Linked DNA regions of Homo sapiens: region 1 is linked to region 2. Evidence: promoter capture Hi-C in human tissues and cell types (Jung and others, 2019). All regions are on one chromosome and are shown on one strand. Each heading gives the region's core, a stretch centred on a gene start or on the middle of the fragment in contact. The rest is flanking DNA. Distances are from core to core; before and after follow the strand shown. Region 1 overlaps LRRC75A (leucine rich repeat containing 75A). Region 2 holds the start of TRPV2 (transient receptor potential cation channel subfamily V member 2).

Region 1 (3,856 bases), core at 109-2,608, 40 kb after region 2:
GTCAAAAAACAAACAAACAAACAGGCCAGGCGTGGTGGCTCATGCCTGTAATCCCAGCACTTTGGGAGGCAGAGGGGGGCGGATCACCTGAGGTTGGGAGTTTGAGACCAGCCTGACCAACATGGAGAAACCCCATCTCTACTGAAAATACAAAATTAGCCAGGCATGGTGGTGCATGTCTGTAATCCCAGCTGCTCGGAAGGCTGAGGCAGGAGAATCGCGTGAACCCAGGAGGCAGAGGTTGAGGTGGGCCGAGATCACGCCACTGCACTCCAGCCCGGGCAACAAGAGCAAAATTCCGTTTTAAAATAAATAAATAAATATAATTAAAATAAACAAATTCTAACAAACAAAAAACCAAAAAAACAAAAAAACCTCTTTCCCTGGGGTTTGGGGTCTTCATTTCTTTCTTTTTTTAAAGAGATGGGGGTCTCACTATATTGGCCTTGCTGGTATTGAATTCCTGGACTCATGTAATCCTCCTGTATCAGCCTCCCAGGTAGCTGGGGCTAAGGGTCCTCATTTCTTTTCTTTTCTTTTCTTTTCTTTTTTTTTTTTAGTGACGGAGTCTTGCTCTGTCCCCGCCCTCAGGCTGGAGTACAGTGGCACCATCTCAGCTCATTGCAACCTCCGTCTCCCAGGTTCAAGTGATTCTCCTGGCTTAGCCTCCCGAGTAGCTGGGATTACAGGCGCGTGCCACCACGCCCAGCTAATTTTTGTATTTTTAGTAGAGACAGGGTTTCACTATGTTGGCCAGGTTGGTCTTGAACTCCTGACCTCAGACGATCCGCCTGCCTCGGCCTCCCAAAGTGCTGGTATTACAGGTGTGAGCCACCGTGCCTCACCTGAGCGTCTTCATTTCTGAAAGCTCCCATGTTGCGTAAAATTTTGATTAAACACATTTGTTCTGCTTTTTTGTTACCCTGTGTCTGGTTATAGGAGTGTCAGCCATGACCCTTATAATGAGTGAGGGAAAAGTACCACACAGTTCTGCCCTACAATTTTTTTTTTTAGACGGAGTCTTGCTCTGTCGCCCGGCTGGAGTGCAGTGGCGCAATCTCAGCTCAATGCAACCTCCATCTCCCAGATTCAAGCGGTTCTCTTGCTTCAGCCTCCCGAGTAGCTGGGACTACAGGCACCCGCCATCCATGCCCGGCTAATTTTTTTTGTATTTCTATTAGAGACGGGGTTTCACCATGTTGGTCAGGCTGGTCTCAAATCCTGACCTCAAGTGGTCCACCTGCCTCGACCTCCCTAAGTGCCCTACAAACTATAGTCCCATACCTTACTACAACCCTATGAGACAGGTATTATTAATAACCCCGCTTTACAAATGAGGGAACTGAGGCAAAAAGAACTTAAATAGATGGGCAAGGCCTCCCAGCTTGTAAGACGGAGTCAGGATCTAAAGTCAGCCAGCTCTGAGGCTGATGCTCCTAACCGCTATCTGCTGCCCTCCTTGTGAGAAATCCTGTCTTTGGCTTAGGTCAGTTCAAAGTGTTTCTATCATTTACAACCAGAAAAGCCTTCAGTGAGACTGTCTCATTTTTTCCCAACTCTTCCACTTTTCAAAGAACCCCTCCAGGGCTCCCTCCTGCAGAGAACAGGACTAGGCAGCACTGGCCCAGAAGTGGAGCAGTAAGAAGGTGGGGAACGGGGGGAGGGAGAGGAGGAGAAGGAGGAAGAGGAAGAGGGAGAGGAGGAGGAGGAAGGGGAGGGGGAGGAGGAGGAGTAGCAGTAGTAGGAGGAGGAGGAAGAGGAGGGAGAGGAGGAGGAAGAGGAGGGGTAGGAGGAGGAAGAGGAGGAAGGAGGAGGAAGAGGAGGAGGAAGAGGAGGAAGAAGAGGAGAAAGGAGGAGAAGAAGGAAGAGGATCAGGAAGAGGAGGAGGAGGAAGAGGAGGAGGAAGAGAAGGAAGAGGAGGAGGAGGAAGAGGAGAAGAAGGAAGAGGAGGAGGAAGAGAAGGAAGAGGAGGAGGAAGAGAAGGAAGAGGAGGAGGAAGAGAAGAAGGAAAAGGAGGAAGAGGAGGAGGAGGAAGAGGAGCAGAAGAAGGAAGAGGAGGAGGAAGAGGAAGAAGAGGAGAAGGAGAAAGAAGAGGAGGAGGAAGAGGAAGAGGAGGAGGAAGCTGGACTTGACACTGAGACACACATACCCTAACTCCTCCAGTGGCTGGAACCCTGAGAAGTAACCTGGGAGCCATAGCTAGCCACATTCCCTACCATGCGGCAGGGGGAAGAGCAGTCTGTGCAGAGGGAACACAGAGGGAGGCAGGGTAGAGCAGCGAGGAGGGAAGGAGGGACCTCTGCACCGTGCTTATCTATAGTTCTAGCACCTTGGTCTAACTTGGCTGCCCGTGGGCACCACAAGACACCTCGATATCTGTAGAACACATTTTCTTCCTTGCTGGAGCCAGCCCGCCTGGGCTTCTGTTATGTGCAGCAGAATCCTAACCCGCCCAGAAGGCTCAATGGCTGTGTGCTGAATCAATGCTTTGCAGTCCTCCCCCGATCCCTGAAGATGGCAGGAGTGGGATGTGGCACAGTCAAGTGACTATGAGTGCAGGTCAGGGCAGCAGCCTCTCCAGACCTTCCCAGTGAGGCTGCCCAGGTCCTGGGGCAGAACGTGTTTGAGGGGCTTCTCATTAATCTGTCAGGAAAGATGACGTGCTGACCTGCAGGCTGACCTGGGAGGGGTACCAGCACCCGACACTGCTCTGGCTCTCAGCCATCAGGCAGTGATACCATCTGCCATCTTCACTCCCCAGGCACCTCTGTAACTGCTCCAGGACCCCGACAAGCACAGCCCTCCACTGCCCTCCATTCAAGGCTATCCCTCCCTCATCCATAAATTCATTCATACATTCATCAAATGTTGACTGTCCCCCTCATTACACTGGACACCATTCCAGATGCAGAGACTGTGTGCCGGCTTTTCTGTTTCCTCTTGCCCCACAGTCCACTCTGCCCTTCTCTGCTCAGAAGGCTGGGCTCTAGAGACTGCATCACTGGGCTCTCTTCCCCCTGGCTTCCACTTGGGTTCAGCTAATGGGAGCAATGGCAGCAAGACCAGAGGGCAGGAGGAGAGACGGATGGGGGAGTTTATTCTGATTCCCCCACTTCGGCATGTGCAGCCGCCGGCCTCCAAGACAGCCTTGCTGCTCTCGGCTCCTGGCATCTGTGCCCCTGTGTAATGTCCTTCCACATTGTAGCAGGGCTGGTCTAAGTGAGCAACAGAATCATTAGAACCAATAGAATGGTGGAAATGATGGTTTGTGACTTCTGAGACTGGGTCTTAAAAGGTATTGTGGGGGTTGGGCTCACACCTGCAATCCTAGTGCTTTGGGAGGCCAAGGGAGGGGGATTGCTTGAGGCCAGGAGTTTGAGACCAGCCTTGGCAACATAGTGAGTGCCCCGTCTCTACAAGAAAAAAAAAAACAAAAAATTAGCTAGGCATGGTGGTGCCTGCCTGCAGTCCCAGCTACTTGGGAAGGTGAGGTGGGAGGATCACTTGAGCCTAGTAGTTCCAGGCTGCAGAAAGTTATGATCACACCTCTGCACTCCAGCCTGGGCATCAGAGTGGGACCCTGTCTCAAAACAAACAAACAAACAAATACAAACAACAACAACAACAAAAAAGCAAGGCCAGGCATAGTGGCTCACACCTGTAATCCCAGCACTTTGGAAGGCCAAGGTGGGTGGATCACCTGAGGTCAGGAGTTTGAGACCAGGCTGGCCAACATGGTGAAACCCCGTCTCTACTAAAAATACAAAACATTAGCCAGTTGTGGTGGCAGGTGCCTGTAATCCCAAGCTACTTGGGAGGCTGAGGCAGGAGAACCGCTTAAACCCGGGAGGCAGAG
Region 2 (3,641 bases), core at 86-2,585:
CACCCACCTCAGCTTCCCAAAGTGCTGGGATTACAAGCGTGAGGCCTATTATAATTGATTTAAATCTAAACAGTCATTGTGGCTAGTGACTATCTTATTGGATGGCGCAGGCCTAGAGTGTAATGTGCATGACAGGGTTGCCATGAGTGACGGATAGCGATGGAGAAGGGCATCTGGACTTTGAGGGCTCATGGTATGGAGTTTGCATTTTATTCCAAGCACCATGGGTGAGGTTTTGTGATTAAGTCAAGGCGTTAGGTGACCTGGTTTTCTTTTTTTTTCTTTTTTGACACAGAGTCTCGCTCTGTTGTCCAGGCTGGTGTGCAGTGGCACAATCTCAGCTCACTGCAACTTCCGCCTCCCAGGTTCAAGCGATTCTCCTGCGTCAGCCTCCCAAGTAGCTGAGATTACAGGTGCCCACCACCATATCCAGCTAATATTTGTATTTTTAGTAGAGATGGGGTTTTGCCATGTTAGCCAGGCTGGTCTTGAACTCCTGACCTCAAGTGATCCATGCACCTCGGCCTCCCAAAGTGCTGGGATTACAGGTGTGAGCCACTGCGCCCGGCCCTGGTTCCCATTTTTAAAAGGTCACTTCAGTTGCTATAAGGAGAAATGGATTATGAGTGTGGGGCAAGAATGAAGCAGGGAGACCAGTTTGGAGGTGGCTGCAGTTGCCCAGGGGAGCAGTGATAGTGGCTTGGACCACTCAGAAAGACAAATTTTGGAGGAAGAGCTGATGCCAGGTTTTGGGAGTGAGGGAGAGAGATTCCTAGGGCTACTTCGGTGGTGGTTGGGTCCCCAAGCTCCAAGACTGAGTCCAGACCAGGGCCCCGTTGGTGGTGAGGTCTGATTTTAGCAGTGCGTGCCCACCTCCTTGTCTCCACCTGCTGGCTGGTGCTTGGAGCACCTTTAGGGGAACTTTAGCCATCAGAGTCCTGGGGTCAGGAGGCTGGGAGAAGGTCCTGGGAGGTGGGAAAGTCCCCCAACTGCTGGGTGGATGGGTGGGTGGGACTGTGTTCCCAGGGGCATCTGCTGGGCTGAGCCTCTCCCTGGGGGCTGTCCACATCAGCTTTCTCCCCTGCCATGGGTCAACTCAGGCCCATTTATGGGCCACACGGCTGCTTGGAAGGCATGTGGTGGAGAAGGGGAGGAGATAGCTGTCAGTGGACTTGGGGAAGAATCCCCCATCCATGGCAGCTTCCATGGGTGGCAAGTCCCCAGCATCCAAGGGCTGCCTCTGAGTGTCACCCACCCCCACCTGAGACCTTAGTGGCTAGAAGGGGGAGGGGTGGGGGTGGAGCCTGATTCGCAGCAGGGTGTGTCCAGATGGTCAGTCTCTGGTGGCTAGCCTGTCCTGACAGGGGAGAGTTAAGCTCCCGTTCTCCACCGTGCCGGCTGGCCAGGTGGGCTGAGGGTGACCGAGAGACCAGAACCTGCTTGCTGGAGCTTAGTGCTCAGAGCTGGGGAGGGAGGTTCCGCCGCTCCTCTGCTGTCAGCGCCGGCAGCCCCTCCCGGCTTCACTTCCTCCCGCAGCCCCTGCTACTGAGAAGCTCCGGGATCCCAGCAGCCGCCACGCCCTGGCCTCAGCCTGCGGGGTAAGTCGGTGGGCAATGCTGGGGACGTTGGAGGGGGCCGGGTCTCCAAGCCTGACAGTGAATGATGGGGTGGGGAAGGCCTAGTGGGCTCCTGGCTTCTACAGCCTGGAGCCAGGGTCTGTGTGGGGCTCCAGCACCCTCTCCCTGGACCTCCACACCCCTTCCTCTGCTGCCAGGGTGGGTGAGGGTCCCAGGAGGTGGGGTGGGGGCTGGACAGACAACTGTTGCTGCTGGGGCTTGGGAGTCTAGGGCTGGAGGAATGGGCCAGGGTTTGGTTGGGGACACAGATGGGCTAAACGGTATGAAACGGAAAGAGCACCCTTCTGCCCCAGTGTGTGTAGAAAGGGTGGTGGGTCACATCTGCAAACTGAGGCAGCCAGGCAGCTCCCCACCTCCCATGTTTCCATGGGAAAATACCCCACCCGGGTCCCCAGGGCCTGGTCCCAGCCTACCCTCTCCACTTCCCTCTGCTGGTGCCGCTCCTCTCTGCTCTCTGCCCCCTGCCCCCTGCCCCCTTCTCCACCCTTCTGTCTCCTTACCACTCTTTGACTCCTTCTTCTTTCTGATCCTGCTCACTGGGCCCATGAGGGTTCCCCAACCCTGACCGAGGCCCCACCCTTGCCAAGTGATGGAGGCTGTGGTTTCAGTTTTCCTGTGAGGGTGAGATTGTGCTGTTTGCTGAGCTTCCTAGGCCAGCCTAGGGCCTGAGGCAGCGTGGTGGAGAGAGCCTGGGCCACAGGCTAGGGGCCTCCCTCCCTTCGTGAAGCCCCCAGAGGCCCTGAGGCACACAAAGGTAGTATTCGATGCCTTCAGAGCTGAATCAGACTGAAAATATAGACAGACCCTGAAAGGCTTTGAAAACGGAAGAGGAACGTCATGGTAGACGCATGGTGTCAGATCCGGCTCTGCCAACAACTGGCGACCTTGGGAAAGCCACTCCCCCTTTCTAAGCCTTAGTAGTCTTGGCAGCAAAATGAAGGGTTTGATAGTCTAGTGGTTTTCCCAGTTATTTCTTCTTAGAGCTCCCCTTCTTTGGCGAGGGGTTGAGTGACTGGCCCCATCCCAGTCATCGCACTTTTATCTGTTGGAATATTGGCTGCCAGGCAAGACGTTGTGTAAAGAAAGGGTTGTGCTGTTAATGTAAATGGTAACAGGGGTTGTGACCCCTCAGATTCCAGGAAGTCCCAGAGGAAAAGTCGGGGACAGTCATGGCTCTTCCTGGGGGACAACATCAAAAGGGTGGCCCTATTGGTTCCCTGTTCCTCACCCCACAGGCCTCCCTCCCTCTCCTCACCCCTGCTGCTCATCCCTCCTGGCCCACTTCCCCTGCATTGGGGCTGGGCTCCCACACAGTGGGTGGACCTACTTGCACTTGGCATTTTTGCCATTAGAAGTAATGAGAAGTAATGGCAAAAACCGCAATTTTTTTTTTTTTTTTTTTTGAGACAGAGTCTTGCTCTGTTGCCCAGGCTGGAGTGCAGTGGTGCCATCTTAGCTTCCGGGTTTAAGCAATTCTCCTGCCTCACCCTCCCTAGTAGCTGGGATTACAGGCACAAGCCACCATGCCCAGCTAATTTTTGTATTTTTTTTAGTGGAGATGGGGTTTCACCATGTTGGTCAGGCTGGTCTCTAACAGCTGACCAGCCAGCCTCAGCCTCCCAAAGTGCTGGGATTACACCCAGCCACCACGCCCAGCCTTTTGCACTAACCTAATACCTCCTTTTGCAGGCTCCAGTCAGGCCAACACCGACGCGCAGCTGGGAGGAAGACAGGACCCTTGACATCTCCATCTGCACAGAGGTCCTGGCTGGACCGAGCAGCCTCCTCCTCCTAGGATGACCTCACCCTCCAGCTCTCCAGTTTTCAGGTTGGAGACATTAGATGGAGGCCAAGAAGATGGCTCTGAGGCGGACAGAGGAAAGCTGGATTTTGGGAGCGGGCTGCCTCCCATGGAGTCACAGTTCCAGGGCGAGGACCGGAAATTCGCCCCTCAGATAAGAGTCAACCTCAACTACCGAAAGGGAACAGGTGCCAGGTGAGACA

What was found. The method cuts DNA at HindIII sites, captures the fragments that hold promoters and counts their contacts. A contact is called where the count stands out against the background at its distance.
Region 1: a contact is called between a fragment that was not itself captured here and the fragment with the promoter of TRPV2 in region 2, in 1 of the 25 tissues and cell types used here (neural progenitor cells).

What each region holds. Positions count from the first base shown.
Region 1 is chr17:16,454,387-16,458,242 of GRCh38, forward strand. The region is part of intron 2 of LRRC75A (leucine rich repeat containing 75A); the gene reads right to left. The region is part of intron 3 of SNHG29 (small nucleolar RNA host gene 29); the gene reads left to right. Among named protein-coding and RNA genes, the nearest start is that of SNORD65, 15 kb to the left of the region's middle. RefSeq lists enhancers at 1,995-2,496, 2,497-2,996. The HindIII fragment of the contact is 8,128 bases long and covers 1-3,856 here.
Region 2 is chr17:16,414,236-16,417,876 of GRCh38, forward strand. It overlaps TRPV2 (transient receptor potential cation channel subfamily V member 2), which reads left to right and starts at 1,336. Exons shown (of 15, transcript NM_016113.5): 1 at 1,336-1,598; 2 at 3,327-3,633. The coding sequence starts at 3,434. RefSeq lists enhancers at 1,167-1,286, 2,237-2,306, 2,567-2,616, 2,957-3,066 and a silencer at 2,007-2,126. The HindIII fragment of the contact is 18,759 bases long and covers 1-3,641 here.